Regions from separate parts of the Homo sapiens genome. Here regions 1, 3, 4 and 5 are each linked to region 2. Evidence: promoter capture Hi-C in human tissues and cell types (Jung and others, 2019). All regions are on one chromosome and are shown on one strand. The core of a region is centred on a gene start or on the middle of the fragment in contact, and the rest is flanking DNA. Distances in the headings are between cores, read along the strand shown.

Evidence for each region. The method cuts DNA at HindIII sites, captures the fragments that hold promoters and counts their contacts. A contact is called where the count stands out against the background at its distance.
Region 1: a fragment that was not itself captured here is called in contact with the fragment with the promoter of THG1L in region 2 in 3 of the 25 tissues and cell types used here (dorsolateral prefrontal cortex, hippocampus and spleen).
Region 3: a fragment that was not itself captured here is called in contact with the fragment with the promoter of THG1L in region 2 in 1 of the 25 tissues and cell types used here (H1 embryonic stem cells).
Region 4: a fragment that was not itself captured here is called in contact with the fragment with the promoter of THG1L in region 2 in 1 of the 25 tissues and cell types used here (spleen).
Region 5: a fragment that was not itself captured here is called in contact with the fragment with the promoter of THG1L in region 2 in 1 of the 25 tissues and cell types used here (H1 embryonic stem cells).

The regions. Positions count from the first base shown.
Region 1 is chr5:157,333,400-157,337,196 of GRCh38, reverse strand. CYFIP2 (cytoplasmic FMR1 interacting protein 2) reads right to left here. Exons shown (of 31, transcript NM_001037333.3): 21 at 3,751-3,797. Among named protein-coding and RNA genes, the nearest start is that of FNDC9, 10 kb to the left of the region's middle. The HindIII fragment of the contact is 4,356 bases long and covers 1-3,797 here.
Region 2 is chr5:157,729,999-157,733,554 of GRCh38, reverse strand. It overlaps THG1L (tRNA-histidine guanylyltransferase 1 like), which reads right to left and starts at 2,135. Exons shown (of 6, transcript NM_017872.5): 1 at 1,924-2,135; 2 at 511-687. The coding sequence starts at 2,114. RefSeq lists enhancers at 1,859-2,218, 3,535-3,556. The HindIII fragment of the contact is 18,862 bases long and covers 1-3,556 here.
Region 3 is chr5:157,463,544-157,467,211 of GRCh38, reverse strand. It overlaps NIPAL4 (NIPA like domain containing 4), which reads right to left. Exons shown (of 6, transcript NM_001099287.2): 3 at 107-163. Among named protein-coding and RNA genes, the nearest start is that of NIPAL4, 5.2 kb to the right of the region's middle. The HindIII fragment of the contact is 5,906 bases long and covers 1-3,668 here.
Region 4 is chr5:157,416,992-157,420,846 of GRCh38, reverse strand. The region is part of intron 1 of NIPAL4-DT (NIPAL4 divergent transcript); the gene reads left to right. Among named protein-coding and RNA genes, the nearest start is that of NIPAL4-DT, 41 kb to the left of the region's middle. The HindIII fragment of the contact is 4,149 bases long and covers 1-3,855 here.
Region 5 is chr5:157,443,444-157,447,133 of GRCh38, reverse strand. The region is part of intron 1 of NIPAL4-DT (NIPAL4 divergent transcript); the gene reads left to right. Among named protein-coding and RNA genes, the nearest start is that of NIPAL4-DT, 15 kb to the left of the region's middle. The HindIII fragment of the contact is 5,093 bases long and covers 1-3,690 here.

The DNA.
Region 1 (3,797 bases), core at 704-3,203, 400 kb after region 2:
CCTGGCTAGCTGGAATATGTCTTTATTCTGATTCACTTAGGATGGGTACTAAATAAATAAAAAATACATGGAGTAAGTGGCGCTGAGTTTATTTCTAAGATCACTGAGTCCCCTGGCACACTGTGGTGCCTTGTTACTGGGAAGACAACTGAGAAGCTGGGGAACAATTTCTGTGTTATCGTTCTGTGACTTCAGCAGTCTCACAACATACATCCGTGTTCACAAGGGAAACTGAAGGAGAGGCAGAGGCTGCTGCAACCACAGGTCCACTTCTCCCTGCACAGTATGTAACCCAGACGATATTTCTGCAACACATTTCGGATTTGTTCTTCTGGCCTTGAAACCAGAAGAGGGCATGTGCCAGCTGGATGCAGGGCTCAACGCACCAAAGCATGGAAAAGGCTTAAAAAGCCATGTGGGCAGTTTAGGGGTCTCCTAAGAGGATGACACTTTTCCACAGCAAGGCTGGTTTACTAAAGGGCAACACAGAGAAACAGAACTGGGGCAGTAAAACACCCCAGTGGGCAACTTCAGAGTAGTGGGAGAAAGAGCTCATCAACGAAAGAAGACCTGATTGTTAACCACATTCAACTGTCAACCAGCTCTGTGGCCTCAGGCAAGTGAGAGAGCAAAGGTCTCAAACTCAGTACAGTGAGGCCTCGTAGGTCACACACATAAATGAAGCCTGCCACTGAGGCTGTGGCAAGCTGAAGAAAGTGTAGCCCATCTCACAGGAACTTCTAGTCATTTATGGGCAATCGTTACCATCTGGGAATGCTGGTCTGGCATTGCCAGAGCTTCTGCAGTTTTATTTGATTTCTTCCAAATGTTAAACATTGGCTCAAAATTACAAATGTACTATGCTGCCTAAACAAAACACAGCCTGCGGGCTGCCCGTTCTCAACTTCAGCATCGGGTCTTGCTGAGACTCTGTTTGCTCAGCTGTGTAAAATGAGGGTGACTAACTCCCCAAATCTTTGCAACCTCTCCCAACTCAGAATCAAGTTGCCTCCCCATCTCAGAATGGAGTTTTTCAGGTGGAGGGAAAGGCTGAGGGGAGCTCATTCCTCATTTTGTTTCTTGGAGGAGGTAGAAGCTTCTCAGCCAGGGCGAGCAGGGGCCATCCAGACCCATCGGAGAGCGCTTCCCTGAGGTCTCTTCATGGGCTTCCCAGGAACTGGTGTTCTCTGGGGAGCCACTGCCCTCGCCTGATAAGCAAGGGCTTTCACTGCTTGTTTTGATTTTGTTCCCAGCTAAAAGAACATTTAGTGCTTTTGGACAGGTGGGAAGAGGCCATGGAGACACACATATCCCAAATCTTTTTTTTCCCATAAGATATGCTCATTATTGGAAAACTAGAAGATACAGATAAACAAAAAAGAAAAAAAAATCCCGCCACTTGGAGCTAATCACTGCTAACCATTTGGCATAAAGAATAACTCTGTTTCTCAAAATAGAGGTGACCAAATGATTTCTCAGAAAAATGTGTGCTGTACTACAGTCTCCTGGAGTAAGTGACCCAGGACTTAGGTGGGTGGGTAGGTCAAGCCCTAAGAAATCACCCAAAATCACTGCATTGCAGCCCCAAATTTATTTTTCTCTCATCTTTTTTCCATAAGCTATTATTTATTAAGTGCTAACTATGTATACAAAAGACTCTTGGGAGGCCAAGGCAGGCAGATCACGAGGTCAGGAGCTTGAGACCAGCCTGGCCAACATAGTGAAACCCCATCTCTACTAAAAATACAAAAATTAGGTGGGCCTGGTGGCACATGCCTGTAGTCCCAGCTACTCAGGAGGCTGAGGCAGGAGAATTGCTTGAACCCTGGAGGCAGAGGTTGCAGTGAGCTGAGATCACGCCACTGCACTACAGCCTAGGCAACAGAGCAAGACTCCGTCTCAAAAGAAAACAAAACAAAAACAAACAAACAAAAAAACAGGTAGTATCTCATTTTATCCTTATAGTAACCCTAAGAGGTGGATTCTGATATTCCCTCCATTTCTATAGATAAGGAAACAGGCTTGGAGAAGCTGAGTAACTTGCACAAGATCACACAGCTAGTAAGTAGCAGGGAGAGGACTGGGACCCTAGGTATGATGTTAGAGTCCCAGTTCACTGTCACTTTATTTTTATACTTTGTCCACTTAAAATAAAAACCAACTTTATTTAAAAATAATGTTAGACTTACAGAAAAGTTGTAAAAACAGCATACCCTGCATATCCTTTACCCAGCTTCCCCACTGTTAACATCTGGCGGAACCATAGTGCAATCATCAAATGAAGGAAATTAACTTTGGTACAACACTATTAGCTGAATGACAGGCTTTATTCAGGTTTCACCAGTTTTCCCACTAAAGTCCTTTTTCTGTTCTAAGATTCAATCTAGGATTCCATGTTGCATTTAGTTGTCAGGTTCCCTTATTCTTTCCTAATTTGTAACAGTTTTCAGTCTTTCCTGTCTCTCAAGACCTGCGCACTTTTGAAAAGTATCATTCACTTTTTTTTTTTTAAATGGAACTCGATTTGGGTTCATCTGATATTTTCTCATAATTAGATTGAGATTGTGCATTTTGGCAAGAATATATGTTGATAACAATAATATGTCTTACTGGTAATATTAACTTTGATACTTGGTTAAGATGGTGTCTGCTAATTTTCTCCATTGTAGAGTCATTCTTCCCTTTGTAATTAATAAACATCTTGGGGGAGATACTTTGAGACTATGCAAGTATCCTATTTCTTCTCAAAGATTTTTTGGTTAAAAAAATTTTGTTATTGTGGTAAGATGTACATAAAATTGAACATTTTAACCATTTGTAGGTGTACTGCGGCATTACGTACATTCACATGGTTGTGCAACTATCAGCACCATCCTTTTCTAGAAGTGAAACTCACCTTCTCCAACTGAAACTCTGTATCCATCAAACACCATCTTCCTCTTCCCTGGCAACCTACCCTATGTCTCCATGAATTTGCCTACTGTAGGAACCTCATATAAGAGAAATCATGCAGTATTTTTCTCAAAGTTCTGCCCACTTATTTTAGCAACCATTGACAGATCTTGCCTACAATTTTTATTATGTTCTAACGGTGATTTTCCATTTCCCACTCCTTCTGTTCATTCGCTTTTGAAGGCACTGAAATCTTCCTTTGATTCACTGAAAGAACAACCAGTCAAGTTTACTCTAATTCTTGAAGAGAGAGAATTAGCAGAGAGTCGTTTTAATTGCTGTTTTCTGGGAGAAAGGAGTAGGCCTATTCCAGGCTTGTGCATCAGAACCAGTTACATAATCTGCAGGGTGCAATGTTTAATGAAAATGTGGGGCCCCCTTGTTTAAGAATTTCAAGATAGTGAAGCAGAATGGTAAACCAGCTGCAAAGCCCTTCTGGGCCTTATACTACTGCACACCTGTGAAGCCAACCCTCTTGTGCAATTTTCCCTAGCTTCTTAGGACCCCTCACCTACTTGCTCAGCCTGCAGGATCCTAAGGACATGCAGCTGTGTCTGAGGGTTGGCCATCTCTAGAAATCTCAAGGAGACCCCCTCCATGCTATCGTTCCCAAGGCAATCAGGAACGTAAGATTACTCTTATTCTGTGTAAGTTTTTCTTTCCCAGCTCCATTCAGATGGGAAAGAGACTCACTGCCCCTCTTTAACTGGCCCAGCACTAGACTAACTACAGTCCCCATCTAGGCTTCTAGTCTGAGAAATCACAGAGCAGAAATCCCACACGCTCCCAGACTCTTACCACAATGGAGGTCAGGTCCTCACTCTCAAAGCGGCTGATAGCTTGGT
Region 2 (3,556 bases), core at 886-3,385:
GTTTGAGACCAGCCTGGGCAACACAGAGAGACCCCACCTCTATTAAAAAAAGAAAGAAAGAAAAAACCAATTCATTATATGATTTGTTTCCCATACAGCGTTTCAAAATACTGCCAAATCAAATATCAGATTTGTGTATTTTATAATGAGATCTGTCTTGAGGAACAGTGTAATGCAATGCACGTAGAGACTATCACTGGCTAAAGCCAACCTATGAATTGTTAATATTACATTCTTATAGTCTCTGTTTCTAATCTTAATGTTCAATGCCAGGTCAGTCTAGAAACCAATCTTATGGGGCATGTGGGGAAAGAATCAGATAAAAGAGGCACACAGAATGCTCGGCTATCAGATGGAAGTACAACAATCTAAACAGGAAATATACATGTACTCTGCAGTTACAAATACTGCAGACATCATCTGTAGCCTGTAAGTCTGCGATTAAGATAAACAGAAAACCAGATGCTGGGAGGAAATATTCTGAAGAAAGGAGTTAGGTCATGGAATTACCTGGCTCTTCTTTTAAACCAATTGGTTTTCCGCTTGAACACAAAGCTGTACTCATCACTCTGTCCATACGCGATCACAATATCCTCTAGTTCTTCCATCACAGTCTGCGCACATTTGGTCATCAGCTGGAGAGCACGGCTGTCATTGGGTTTTGCAAAGTTGTGCTTCTCAGCAAACCTTCACAGGGGAAAAAGGGAAGAAAGCATGGATGGAAGCCTGTCATTAACAACACGCTCTGTTGCTAGATAACAGAGGCTGTTTGGAGGAAGATAATGTAATAGCACTGTGAACTCAAATGCTCAACTAGCCACAACCTGATCCATTTTCTTAAGAACTTAGTTTTTTTCCTGCCCTGAAATTGAGAAAGCCAGACAGAAATGCTAAGCCTCAACTCTCCTTTCTGTGAAATGGGAATAAAAGAATATTTACCTCATTGGGTTGTCCTGAAGATTAGGGAGAAGATAAAAGTAATCATACCTAGCTCCTAGTAAGTGCTCAATAAATGTTAGTTATAATAATCATTAACAATGCAGCCCTCTTCAAAGATTAAATTCCCATCTTTCTGTTATATTTCTTTCTCCCCCTCCCTCTTTTTCTGAGACAGGGTCTTGCTCTGTCACCCAAGCTGGAGTGCAGTGTCCAATCACCGCTCACTGCAGCCTTGACCTCCCAGGCTCAAGCGATCCTTCCACCTCAGCCTTCCCAGTAGCTGGAACTACATGTGTGCACCACTGCGCCGGGCAAATTAAATTTTTTCTTTTTCTTTCTTTCTCTCTTCCTTCTTTCTCTCTCTCTCTCTCTTTTTTTTTTTTTTTTTTTTTTTTTTTTTGTAGTGGCGGAGTTTCACAAACAACAACCACAGAAAAAACAAAACAAAAACAAAAACTTGGTCTCCAACTCCTGGCCTTAAGTGATCCTCCTGCCTCCCGCGCCCAGCCTTCTCTTTTTTTCTGACTCTCTGTTGAATCTAGTCCATGTGGCCTGTTACTGATAATGAAGCACAGACGTTAAGTATTGCCCACAAGCAAGGCTTACACAGACTTCTGAACAGTCAGCATTCAAAGATATCTAACAGAATAGCTAGGCAATTGGCTTAAGAGCTTAAATATTGTGCATGAGAGTGACTTTTAACAACAGGTCCTTGCTAACAAGTCTCTGTTCACTTAACACGGGCACTCCAAGCCAGATCCTCATCACGGGAGCACATCGCCCATTCAATTACGCTAACAGCCAGCGTTCAGGCACTGTCCTAGCCAACACGCAGGGCGGGGCAATGCTCCATGCTGCGCACTCATTGGCTACCGCGTTACCCTGGTAACCGTGACTGGAGCGGGCGGGAGGACTTGCAAGGGAAGAAGCTGGATTCCCCGGAAGCGCTGGCGCATCGCGACGCCCCGAGTCGAGCTCGCTCACCGATGGAAATTCCGGCCGTCCAGCCGCACTACCACCCAGCAGTGTGCCAGGCAGGTGTCGTCAGCCTCGAAGTCCCTCACGTACTCGAACTTGCTTTTTGCCATGGTCGCCCCCAATCTCAGGTACCGTCTCAGAGTGATGGAAATGGTGGCCAAGGAATCGTGAACCTTAACTTTACAGGCGCCCCACATTCTACACGCGGAAAGGAAAGGGCCAGATAGCCCCGCCCCGGAAGTGTTCTCTTCGCGGCTACTCTAGCCGTAGGGCAGTCATAGTCTCTCTCGCCTCTCCCTGTAGTTCTTAACCTCCCAGGCAAAGAGGATGGAGGTTTAGGTTCCTCCGTTAGCACCTTCCACGCTTGCTTCTTCCTCCTCCCGTCCTGCGGCAAATCAGTCTCACGAGGTTTTTAAAAATTATTTTTTATCTGCTGGTCTTGACTTACTGGCAAAAGCAATCAGTGTCCCCGTTAGTGCCCAGATCAAAATCATACCCCAACCTAAAAAAAAAAAAAAAAAAAAAAATTCTTTTTCTGGTGTTTGAAGGTGTAGCTGTGATGTTTCCCCTTTTCTTAGTGGCATTTATTAACTTGTAGAAAATCTGGAATACACCAAAACTATAGTTAAGAAAATTAACACTTTGTTTCTCCGTCTTTCCCATCAAAGCATTGTGGATGGTTCCTTTCAGTCTTTTTTCTTTTTGTGTATGTAGGTTTACACAGGGAATGCACAAGATTGGAATTATTCGCCTATACAATGTTTATATATTTTTCCACTCAGCTTGAGCATTTGCCAGTATCATCAATTATTCCAAAGTGTGATTTTTAAAAGAAAAATGGACTCAATATTCCAACATATGGGTATACTAAATTGATTTATTCAACTTTTTCACCATTAAATAATCACAGAACCAGTGTTTGATATCTTGTTGCTGGTGGATAATAGTAAAAATAAAATCCTAATATTTGTGTCATACTTTGTGATTTACAAAGCTCTTTCAAATTCATTACCTACTTACTTACTTTTTTTTTTTTTCCATCCTCAAGAAAGATATTCAGGCCAGGCACGGTGGCTGACGCCTGTAATCCCAGCACTTTGGGAGGCAGAGGCAGGAGGATTGCTTGAGTTCAGGAGATTCATACCAGCCTTGGCAACGTAGCAAGACCCCTGTTCCTACAAAAAAGAAAAAAAATTATCCAGGCTTAGTAGCCCATGCCCGTAGTCCTAGCTATGGGAGGATGAGGTGGGAAGATACTTGAGGCCAGGAGTTCGAGACTGCAGTGACCCATCATTAGCCACTGCACTCCAGCCTTGGTGACAGAGCAAGAATCTGTCTCTAAAGAAAAAGAAAAATATTCAAACAATATAAATCCTTTTATATGTAGCAAAAAGTCTCTCACTGACTCCTAACAACATACTTTAGGCAGTTACTGTTACCAGTTTTTTGTGTATCCATACAGGGATCTATATCAGTATGTGTGTATATCCTCATAATAGTACCACAAATGGTAGTCATCACTCCTTTGATGCTCAGAGTAACATCAGAGGGATGCAAAAGAGGAACTGGGATTTCACCTTTACAAAGGGGAAATCTGAGACTCAAAGAGAAAAAAATAATTTACATAAGGTCACATATG
Region 3 (3,668 bases), core at 1,134-3,633, 270 kb after region 2:
TTCACACTTGCCATACTAGAGACAAAAATGCCCTACCCACCCCTCCCTTTGTCTCCAGCCCTGCTATCAATAGGCCACTGTTATTAGTAACAAACAACCCACTTACTGGTGAGAAATCCAGCCCACCACATTGCATCTTTCAGGTAGCCGAAGCCTCCATCCACTGTGGAGGGAATGGACACAAAGTTAGGATGGAACTTGGCCACACTTTCTCAGGTACCTTTCCTAACTCTCTGCTCACTCCCCGGCCTCTAAGGGCTGCTCCTTGAGGCTTGGTTCTGGGCCTTCTCCTGGGTGGGTTCATTTGTTCCTAAAGTTTTAAATACCATCTATATCTGATGCCTCTATATCTGTAGCCTGGACCTTCCTTCTGAGTCCAGGTGTATATCCAACTGCTTACTTCACATCTCCTCTTGGATTCCTCACAGGCATCTCAATTTCTGTCCTAAATGGAGCTCTTGGTTTTAAATGTTCCCCACCCACCTGCCAAATGAAACATAGTAAGTGGCACTCTCATTTATCCAGTTGCTTAAGCCAGAAACCAGGGAATTGCTCTTTGACTCTTCTCTCCCTCCTTCTGCATCCAGTCCATCCTGATAACTCTGTCTCCAAAAAGATCTCGCATGTGTCCACTCCGCTGCCACCTGCTACACGAAGGCACTGTTATCCCTGCTTCAGGTTGAGGCAACAGCCTCCTTCATAGTTACTCTGGTTCCACTCTTGGCCCTTTAATAACCTATTTTTCTTTTCATGGCAGCCAGTCGTCTTTTAAGAATGCAAATCAGATTATGTCACTCCGCAACTTATGGCTGGCAATGGCTTCTGAGTGCTCTCAGGATAAAGACCAGAATCCTTAACAAGAGCATGCATACTTTTGGCCCTGCTCACCTGTCCAAGTGCATCTCCTGCCACTCTTCTCCTCTCTCTTAGCTCTCCAAAAACGATGAGCTCTTTTCTGCCTCGAGGCCTTTGCACATGCTTTCCCTGTGTCCAGAATACTCTATTATTTGCCTAAACTTACACTCACTCTACAGGTTGCTGTGTGAATGTTGCTTCCCCTACGATGCCATCCCTGACTCCCTGATTTCTATTATTTCCTGTTGGAGTTCCTTCTCTCCCTCCCTCCCACCATCCTTTCCTTCCTTCCTTTCTCTCTCTCTTCCTTCCCTCCCTCCTCCCTCCTTTCTTCCTTACCTTTTTCCTTCCCTCCCTCCTCCACTGCAGGGTCTCCCTCGGTCACCCAGGCTGGAATGTGCAGTGGCATGATCATAGCTCAATGAAGCCTCAAACTCCTGGGCTCAAGGGATCCTCCCACCTCAGCCTCCTGAGTAGCTGGGACTAGTCATATGCCACCATGCCTGGCTAATTGAAAAAAATTTTCTGTACAGATGGGGGTCTTGCTATGTTTCCCAGGCTGGTCTCAAACTCCCGGACTCAAGTGATCCTGACACCTCAGCCTCCCAAAGTGCTGGGATTACAGGTGTGAGTGACTGTGCCCAGCTGGGGTTCTCTCATAACACCCAGCTCTTCTCTTTCATGGCATTGTTGTTCTTAATTTTAGTTGATCTTCTTATTTTATGACATTTCCCCCAGTAAAATGGAAGCTCCACAAAGCCAGGAATTGTGTCTGCTTTGTTCAGGACCTGGCACGTAGTCAATACTCAGTAACATTAGCAACAACGATGATGATAATAATGGATGATGATAGATGGGTTTGAGACAGTTTCATAAAAATCCAAAAATTTATGTTGCTTTTGGGAATGCCCACTTTTCTAAGGAAGAGGTGTCCTATTTTCATTAGGTTCCTAAAAAGGTCAGAATTTCCCATAAATGTTAAGAACTCTGAGAACATTTTACTCTAAGGGTTGAAATCACAGAAGATACTGAAATAGTAGATTGGAGAAAAAAATGGATTCCAGGGAAGTTGTCTTTCTGAATGGTCAATGATACCTTCTCTGAACACAAGCAGAAATTTCCCTGGCACTCTGGAAGGTCTCTGGCCTTTCCAACACTTGTCTAGAAGTGAAGGGTGGAATGGCAATGACCATTGTTCCTGACTTCATCTCTGCACCTCACAGCTATTCATTTTGCAGCACACATGGGCTCTAGACCTGTACCTCTAACTGTGGGAACCTCCCACTGAGATAACAGTAATACCAATACTAGTGCTAGTCTGTGCACTAGTACCTCTAACTGTGGGAACCTTTCACTGAGATAACAGTAATACCAATACTAGTGCTACTCTGTGCTAGGTATGATTCTAACTATGTTGCATTTTCTTATAACCCTTTAGGCTGGTACTATTCTTATCTCCATTTTATAGATGAGAAGACTGAGGCATAGAAATAGATACTTTTCTTGCCCAGAATTGAATCACCAGGAATTGAGGAGCCAGAATTAGAACCCTAATAGTCTGCTTCCTAAGTGCAATATCCCACAAAAACATTAAATTGAACGTGTCCAAACTTGAATGCATCATCTTCCCATAAACCTGTCCCTCCTTCTACACTCTTCATCTCAAGAAATAGCACTTTCATCACCCCAGTTGCTCAAGTCAAAAGCATGAGTCATCCTTGACTCCTTCCCCCGCCCCTCCTCCCTTGCTTGAAGCCGGTCTGTATCAAAGCTGGTAAATTCTACCTTCAAAAACTAGCTTTGGAATCCACCAGTTGTCTCCATTCCCATTTCCGTCTCCCGGGCTCAAGTTCTGTCCTTTCACTCACCTACTTGGTTTCCCAGGCTCCAGGCTTGTCCCCTAATCCGTTCTTCACCCAGCAACCAGGGATCTTTTCAAATTGCAAATTAGACTGTGTCACTCGCCTTCCTAAAACCTTTCAGTCACTTAACAATTGCACTCAGCCTCTGTACTTCCATTTACAAGACCCTTCATGAGCTGGCCCTTCACTCACCATGCACCCCTCCTGCTCCTGCCATTCTGAATGACTTTCGATTTCTAGTATCACTCAAGTTCTCTCACCTCTGAGCCTTTGCACGTGTTATTCCTTCTGCCTGGAACACTGTCTCCCTATTTCCCCTTTTACCTTGCTGTCTCCTCATAATCTAGGTCTCAGTTTAGAGATCATCTCTTCTAGAGAAACCTCCCCTAATCCCCCAAGTCTGGGCTTTACACACCCCTCCAAAATATTCCCCCATAGCAGGCTGTGTTTTCCCCATGATGGCACTTAACACATGATAAAACAACTGCCTATTGACTCATCTGTCTCTTCCACTTGACTGAAGGTTCCACGAGGACACTGAATCCCCATGTCTAGCATTGTCCCTGGCATACAGCAGGCATGTGATAAATGGTGATTAAATGAATGAGTCATTTTGCACAGGATTCCTTTTCTCAAGCACTGTTTCACGGAAAAACATCTTATTTTCCAAACAAGCAAATCCCTTGGGGTCAGACAGTTCACCATTTTTTGGCAGCCCAGAAGGGAGCTCAATTGGATGCTAAGTGAGGGCACACCAGCGTCTGACATTGTTCTGAGCAGAAGTATCTATTCCCATTTTGCAGAGAAGCTGTGACTTGCCTGTGATGACGTTGGTGGGAAGTAAGACCAAGACCAGACATGCATATCTGATTCTTGGTCCTGAGACTTGTCCCTTCCCTCCTCTAATAAACACATCATGAAGGTCTCAGGAAAGATTGGATTCTAAAGGAA
Region 4 (3,855 bases), core at 567-3,066, 310 kb after region 2:
AGTAAGCAGAGTCCTGAATAGGTTGTTTTTCAACCCTCCCCCCCTCCTGCCCTTCCCACTCTTGTAGTCCTCAGGGTCTGTTGTTCCCATCTTTATGTGGGACACATTTTAAAAGCTTAATACAGACTGCACTCTGGTACTCAAAGAGTCTCATTTCTCTTGTAGGTTACAGTCCCACCATTTGTTGATCCTCTTTTTTTTTTTTTTTTTTTTAAATTGATCATTCTTGGGTGTTTCTCGCAGAGGGGGATTTGGCAGGGTCATAGGACAATAGTGGAGGGAAGGTCAGCAGATAAGCAAGTGAACAAAGGTCTCTGGTTTTCCTAGGCAGAGGACCCTGTGGCCTTCCGCAGTGTTTGTGTCCCTGGGTACTTGAGATTAGGGAGTGGTGATGACTCTTAACGAGCATGCTGCCTTCAAGCATCTGTTTAACAAAGCACATCTTGCACCGCCCTTAATCCATTTAACCCTGAGTGGACACAGCACATATTTCAGAGAGCACAGGGTTGGGGGTAAGTAAGGTCATAGATCAACAGGATCCCAAGGCAGAAGAATTTTTCTTAGTACAGAACAAAATGAAAAGTCTCCCATGTCTACTTCTTTCTACACAGACACAGCAACTATCCGATTTCTCAATCTTTTCCCCACCTTTCCCCCTTTTCTATTCCACAAAACCGCCATTGTCATCATGGCCCATTCTCAGTGAGCTGTTGGGTACACCTCCCAGACGGGGTGGTGGCCGGGCAGAGGGGCTCCTCACTTCCCAGTAGGGGCGGCCGGGCAGAGGCGCCCCCCACCTCCCAGACGGGGCGGCTGGCCGGGCGGGGGGCTGACCCCCCACCTCCCTCCCGGATGGGGCGGCTGGCCGGGTGGGGGGCTGACCCCCCACCTCCCTCCCAGACGGGGCGGCTTGCCGGGCGGGGGGCTGAACCCCACCTCCCTCCCGGACGGGGAGGCTGGCCGGGTGGGGGGCTGACCCCCCACCTCCCTCCCAGACGGGGCGGCTTGCCGGGCGGGGGGCTGAACCCCACCTCCCTCCCGGATGGGGTGGCCGCCGGGCGGAGACGCTCCTCACCTCCCAGACAGGGCGGCTGCCGGGCGGAGAGGCTCCCCACCTCTCAGACGGGGTGGCTGCCAGGCGGAGGGGCTCCTCATTTCTCAGACTGGGCGGCCGGGCAGAGACGCCCCTCACCTCCCAGATGGGGTCGCGGCCGGGCAGAGGCGCTCCTCACATCCAAGATGGGGCGGCGGGGCAGAGGTGCTCCTCACATCCCAGACGATGGGTAGCCGGGCAGAGACGCTCCTCACTTCCTAGATGGGATGGCGGCTGGGAAGAGGCGCTCCTCACTTCCTAGATGGGATGGCGGCCGGGCAGAGATGCTCCTCACTTTCCAGACTGGGCAGCCAGGCAGAGGGGCTCCTCATATCCCAGACGATGGGCGGCCTGGCAGAGACGCCCCTCACTTCCCAGACGGGGTGGCGGCCGGGCAGAGGCTGCAATCTCGGCACTCTGGGAGGCCAAGGCAGGCGGCTGGGAGGTGGAGGTTGTAGCCAGCCGAGATCAGGCCACTGCACTCCAGCCTGGGCACCATTGAGCACTGAGTGAACGAGACTCCGTCTGCAATCCTGGCACCTCGGGAGGCCGAGGCTGGCGGATCACTCGCAGTTAGGAGCTGGAGACCAGCCTGGCCAACACAGCGAAACCCCGTCTCCACCAAAAAAATACGAAAACCAGTCAGGCGTGGCGGCGCCCGCCTGCAATCCCGGGCACTCAGCAGGCTGAGGCAGGAGAATCAGGCAGGGAGGTTGCAGTGAGCCGAGATGGCAGCAGTACAGTCCAGCTTTGGCTTGGCATCAGAGGGAGACCGTGGAAAGAGAGGGAGAGGGAGACCGTGGGGAGAGGGAGAGCACTACTCTTTTTTCTTTAAACTTCTCTTCTCACTTCATTTCATTCATTTGATCTTCAATCACTGATACCCTTTCTTCCAGTTGATCGAATCGGCTACTGAAGCTTGTGCATTTGTCATGTAGTTCTCGTGCCATGGTTTTCAGCTCAATCAGGTCATTTAAGGAATTTTCTACACTGGTTATTCTAGTTAGCCATTTGTCTACTCTTTTTTCAAGGTTTTTAGCTTCTTTGTGATGGGTTCGAACTTCTTCCTTTTGCGCGGAGAAGTTTGATCGTCTGAAGCCTTCTTCTCTCAACTTGTCAAATTCATTATCTGTCCAGCTTTGTTCCATTGCTGGCAAAGAGCTGCATTCCTTTGGAGGGGGAGAGTCGCTCTGATTTTTAGAATTTTCAGCTTTTCTGCTCTGTTTTTTCCCCATCTTTGTGGTTTTATCTACCTTTGGTCTTTGATGATGGTGATGTACAGATGGGGTTTTGGTGTGGATGTCCATTCTGTATGTTAGTTTTCCTTCTAACAGTCGGGACCCTCAGCTGCAGGTCAGTTGGAGTTTGCTGGAGGTCCACTCCAGACCCTGTTTGCCTGGGTATCAGCAGCGGAGGCTGCAGAACAGTGAATATTGCTGAACAGCAAATGTTGCTGCCTGTTCTTTCCTCTGGAAGCTTCATTTCAGAGGGGTACCAGGCCGTGTGAGGTGTCAGTCTGGGTGTCTCCCATTTAGGCTACTCGGGGGTCAGGGACCCACTTGAGGAGGCAGTCTGTCTGTTCTCAGATCTCAAACTCCATGCTGGGAGAACCACTACTCTCTTCAAAGCTGTCAGACAGGGACATTTAAGTCTGCAGAGGTTTCTGCTGCTTTTTGTTTGGCTATGCCTTGCCTCCAGATGTGGAGTCTACAGAGGCAGGCAGGCCGCCTTGAGCTGAGGTGGTCTCCACCCAGTTCCATCTTCCTGGCCGCTTTGTTTACCTACTCAAGCCTCAGCAATGGCGGGCGCCCCTCCCCCAGCCTCGCTGCCACCTTGCAGTTTGATCTCAGCCTGCTGTGCTAAAAATGAGCGAGGCTCCTTGGGCATGGGACCCTCTGAGCCATGTTTGGGCTATAATCTCCTGGTGGTGCCGTTTGCTAAGACAGTTGGAAAAGTGCAGTATTAGGGTAGGAGTGACCTGATTTTCCAGGTGCCATATGTCAACCCTTCCCTTGGCTAGGAAAGGGAATTCCCTGACCCCTTGGGCTTCCCAGGTGAGGCAATGCCTCACCCTGCTTTGGCTTATGCTAGGTGGGCTGCACCCACTGTCCTGCCCCCACTGTCCAAGGATCCCCAGTGAGATGAACCCAGTACCTCAGTTGGAAATGCAGAAATCACCTGTCTTCTGCATTACTCATGCCGGGAGCTGTAGACTAGAGCTGTTCCTATTCAGCCATCTTGGAACTGCCCCTCGAGTTTATTTTTTAAAATTTTTTATTTCCATAGGTTATTGGGTAGTGTTTGGTTACATGAGTAAGTTCTTTGGTGGTGATCTATGAGATTTTAGTAAATGGCCACCAATCAATGAGTGGATACAGAAACTGTGATTTATATATATATCACATATGTATATACATGTGTGTATATGTATATATCACATGTATATATATGTATATATCACATATATGTGTATAAATAACATGTGTATATATATCATATATGTATACATATATATCATATGTATACATATATATGTATCATACATCTATATCTATATATCATATATGTGATACATATATATACATATATATGATATATATCACATATCTATATATCAACCACATATATACATATATGTATATATATCAGTTTATATATATGAATAATATATGTTTTATATATATATACACACACATATATGAGATGGAATACTACTCAGCCATAAAAAGGAATGAATTAATGGCATTCACAGCAACCTGGAT
Region 5 (3,690 bases), core at 1,078-3,577, 290 kb after region 2:
CATTTCCAGAAAGCCTGTTCTGACAGAGCGGTCTGACCTTTAGTCAAACCCCAACAAAACCAGAAGTAAGTGGTCTTTATTTTAGGGAAGGCCCTCACTGGTAATTTTTAACTTTTTAGGAGCTCCAAATCCCTTTAAGAATCTGACAAAAAGGGTCAACACTTGCCCAGAAAGAGGCACACATCACTTTTGCACTGAATTTCAGAAGGATACAGGTCAATAACCCTTGGTTTTTGGCCAAAGGGGGGAGAACATCCTATATTTTTGAATGCGCATTTTTTATTGAACCAGAACTTCACAGAGAATAGTGCAGAAATGTTAAGTGTGGAGATCAGTGGGTTTTCATATATGCATACACCCTCGTAACTACCATTCAGATAAGATATGGAACATTTCCAGCCCTCAGAATGACCAAAAGAAATTTGGCAAGACTTTTTTTTTTTTTTTTTTTTGAGACACAGTTTCCCTCTGTGGCCCAGGCTGGAGTGCAGTGGCGCAATCTTGGTTCACCGCAACCTCTGCCTCCTGGCTTCAAGTGATTCTCCTGCTTCAGCCTCCCTAGGAGCTGGGTTTATAGGCGTGTGCCACCATGCCCAGATAATTTTTGCATTTTTAGTAGAGACGCGTTTTGTCATGTTGGCCAGGCTGTTCTCAAACTCCTAGCCTCAAGTAATATGCCCACCTCAGTCTCCCAAAGTGCTGGGATTACCGGCGTGAGCCACTGCACCCAGCCAAATCATAAAATTTTAAAATTGTATGTTATAATTGGTTAAAAAATAAACTGCAGTTCAGAAGGGTGTAAAATGAAGCATAAAAGTACCCTGGCTATCCTACACACAAGAGGTAGTCACCACCATTAACAGATTCTGTGATATACATCCAGAAATTATATATGCATACCACAACACGGAGTCACATTATACAGCTTTTATTTCAGGTTGCTTTTATCCTAGCAACTGACTTAGAGACTTTTTCATATTAGTACATATGAATATACTTATTTTTAGAATACTGCATCTTTTTAGAATATGCTAATGTACAAATATTGCTAGCTTATTTAATTACGTTTCTACTGATTATCAGTAGAACAGGTTGTTTCCAGGTTTAAATATTATAAACTCTGCTGTGTGGACATTACCTCTTTATACAGTTTAGCCTGTAGGATAAACTCTGCAAGTGGAATTGCTGGGTTAAAGGATATGACTATTCAAAGCGCTTCTGGTAGGCTGAATATTCACATTCCCCACCCATGTCTTGACCCTTAAACCTGCAAATTTGTTACCTTACGTTGTAAAAGAGATTCTGTAGACGTGATTAAGTTAAAAATCCTGAGACAGGGAGAGGGCCCTGGGTTTTCCAGGTGGACCCAATGTAATCACAAGGGTCCTTATAAGTGGAAGGCAGATGGGTCGGAGTCAGCAGGGAAGGTCATGTGAGGACGGAAGCGGGGATGGAAGTGATGCAGTCAAGAGCCAACAGCCTCTAGAAGCAAGAAACAGTGAGAAGCGAATTGTTCCCTGGTGCTCCAGAAAGAACCAGCTTTGCCGACACATTGATTCTCGTCTGGTGACTAAGTTAAGAGACTTATGTCTTTTGGTGTCCATAATTGTAAGATAATACGTTTGTGTTGCTGTTAATTTGGTGGTAATTCGTTACATCAGCGTCAGGAAACAGGGCTGCATCCTCTCTCATTTTCACCAATAGGAGAGTACTGGGTTCCCCAAAGTTCCCAAATAGACTCTTTAAATGTTGCCAGTTTAGAGCAGAAGTTTGAGAATCTGAGGCTGTCTACTACTCACTGTTTTCTGAAGAAGTAAAGCAAAATACATATATATGTGCCTGTAATTTGCGCGTGCTCACGGATCCCCTAAGGTTAGAAATTTCCTTTTAGGGCTTTGGGTTCCCTTTCCCTTGCCATCTCCCCCAAGGCAGGCTGTGGTTCCCATCCATGGTTCCAGTGCAGAAGATCTCAAACTGCCAGGGCAGGAAGAGTCCTTAGAGATCATCTGGGGTACTATGCCCATTTTAAAGACGGAGAAAAAGTAGAAAAACTGGAACGAGATGTGAGTTTCATGACTCCCAGTGCTGTGTATTTTTATTTTTTATTTTTATTTTTGCCTATACATCCTCCTCTGCAAGGGAGGAGGAAGGACAGAAGCATCCGGGTCTGGGCTGAGGTTTGGGCGAGCTCTCATGTCACAGGTGAGTCCAGTTTTAGTAACCAGTCAACCCCAGGCAATAAAGGCCTCCCACGGGCTCATCTTCCCCTCTTCTGGGGAGGGAGATGCACACATAGAAGACCTATCCAGAGACTCCTGGCCTCAGGCTTCAGGTCCTGAGAATGAACTCTGGGTTCTTAAGAGCTAAAGAGTTTGCCAAGGAGGGGCTGAGATGGAGAAATTGATCTTCTCCCCACTGGTCTCAGGTACGACCCTTTCCCACTTCTGGGCTTCCTGGGCTCTGCCATAGTCCCCTCCAACTGGTTGTTGCTTCCTCATCTAGGCTTTTTGATTCCTGAATCTGTTGGAAATAGCTTTGGACTGAATGGGGATTAGGGGTGATGAAGATCTTCCAAGATATACTTCCACCTTCCCTGGGGAATCCTGAATGGAAACCCGAGTTGGAGAGGAGGAAACAGGAAACGGGGCACTGACACCTGGCTGCAGAGGGTAAAAACAAGTGCAATGAGCTGACTGAACCCTTTTCTCTCTATCAGCACCAGTTATTGATCACTGACAGTGTGCCGGGCACCGTGCCAAGGCAATTCATACATATTACCATTCATGACTTGTAACAACCCAAGAAGCAGGTATTATCACTGTTACTATTATTTTGAAGATAAGGAAAAAGATGCTCAAAGATTAAGAACTTGCTAGTTCCTGGCAGAGCTGGGTTTTCAACAACCCAGCTCTTAACCAGTTACTCTCTTCTGCCTGCATTCTTGGTTGAGGAGGGTTCCAAAAGAGAAAATTAACACCACCAAACCTCATGCTCAGCCCTGACTCTGTCCCTTTCTGTGTCCCTCCTGCCTCAGCCCTACCTCCATAGTCCTGTTTTCTGCAGCCCAATATAGTATATCCATAATAATTACAGTCAGTGCCGATTAGCCCTTTACTCACTTCTTTTATGCCAGCTGCTGTTTTAAGGCAGGGTTTTTTTTGTTGTTTGTATTTTAGGGGAAGGAGACAGAAATGGATTCATTTAGATGACATAAATGGAGCACTTACGTGTCACCTGCTGTGAATGGCACTGGCACTATTATGGTGAGCAAGACAGGCAGTCCCTATACTACTAGACTGTATTCATTAAATGATCACACAATTAACATTGAATTATAATTTTGATAAGAGGTAAGAAGGTCAAAGACAGATGCTTAGAGAATATTTCACAGATAAACTGGAACCCAGGCTTCCAGGAGGAAAAGGCATTATAAAGATGATGGAAGGCCTTGGTATGTGAGGAGGGGGAGGTGGGGAGAGGGAAGGGGAGAGATGTTAGGAGGAGGGGAGCAGGCGGTGTGGTTGCTTAACCTCTATTGTGTTCTAATTTTGAGTCCTTGTGTATGAAATGGGGATGATATTTTCACCTCAGGGATGGGCGGAGTGACATGACATGAGACTATGTGGTAGCTAGTAGACGGGCTGAACCCAGGCTGCCCTGCCTAGGGTCAGCCCCATCCCCATTACAGTT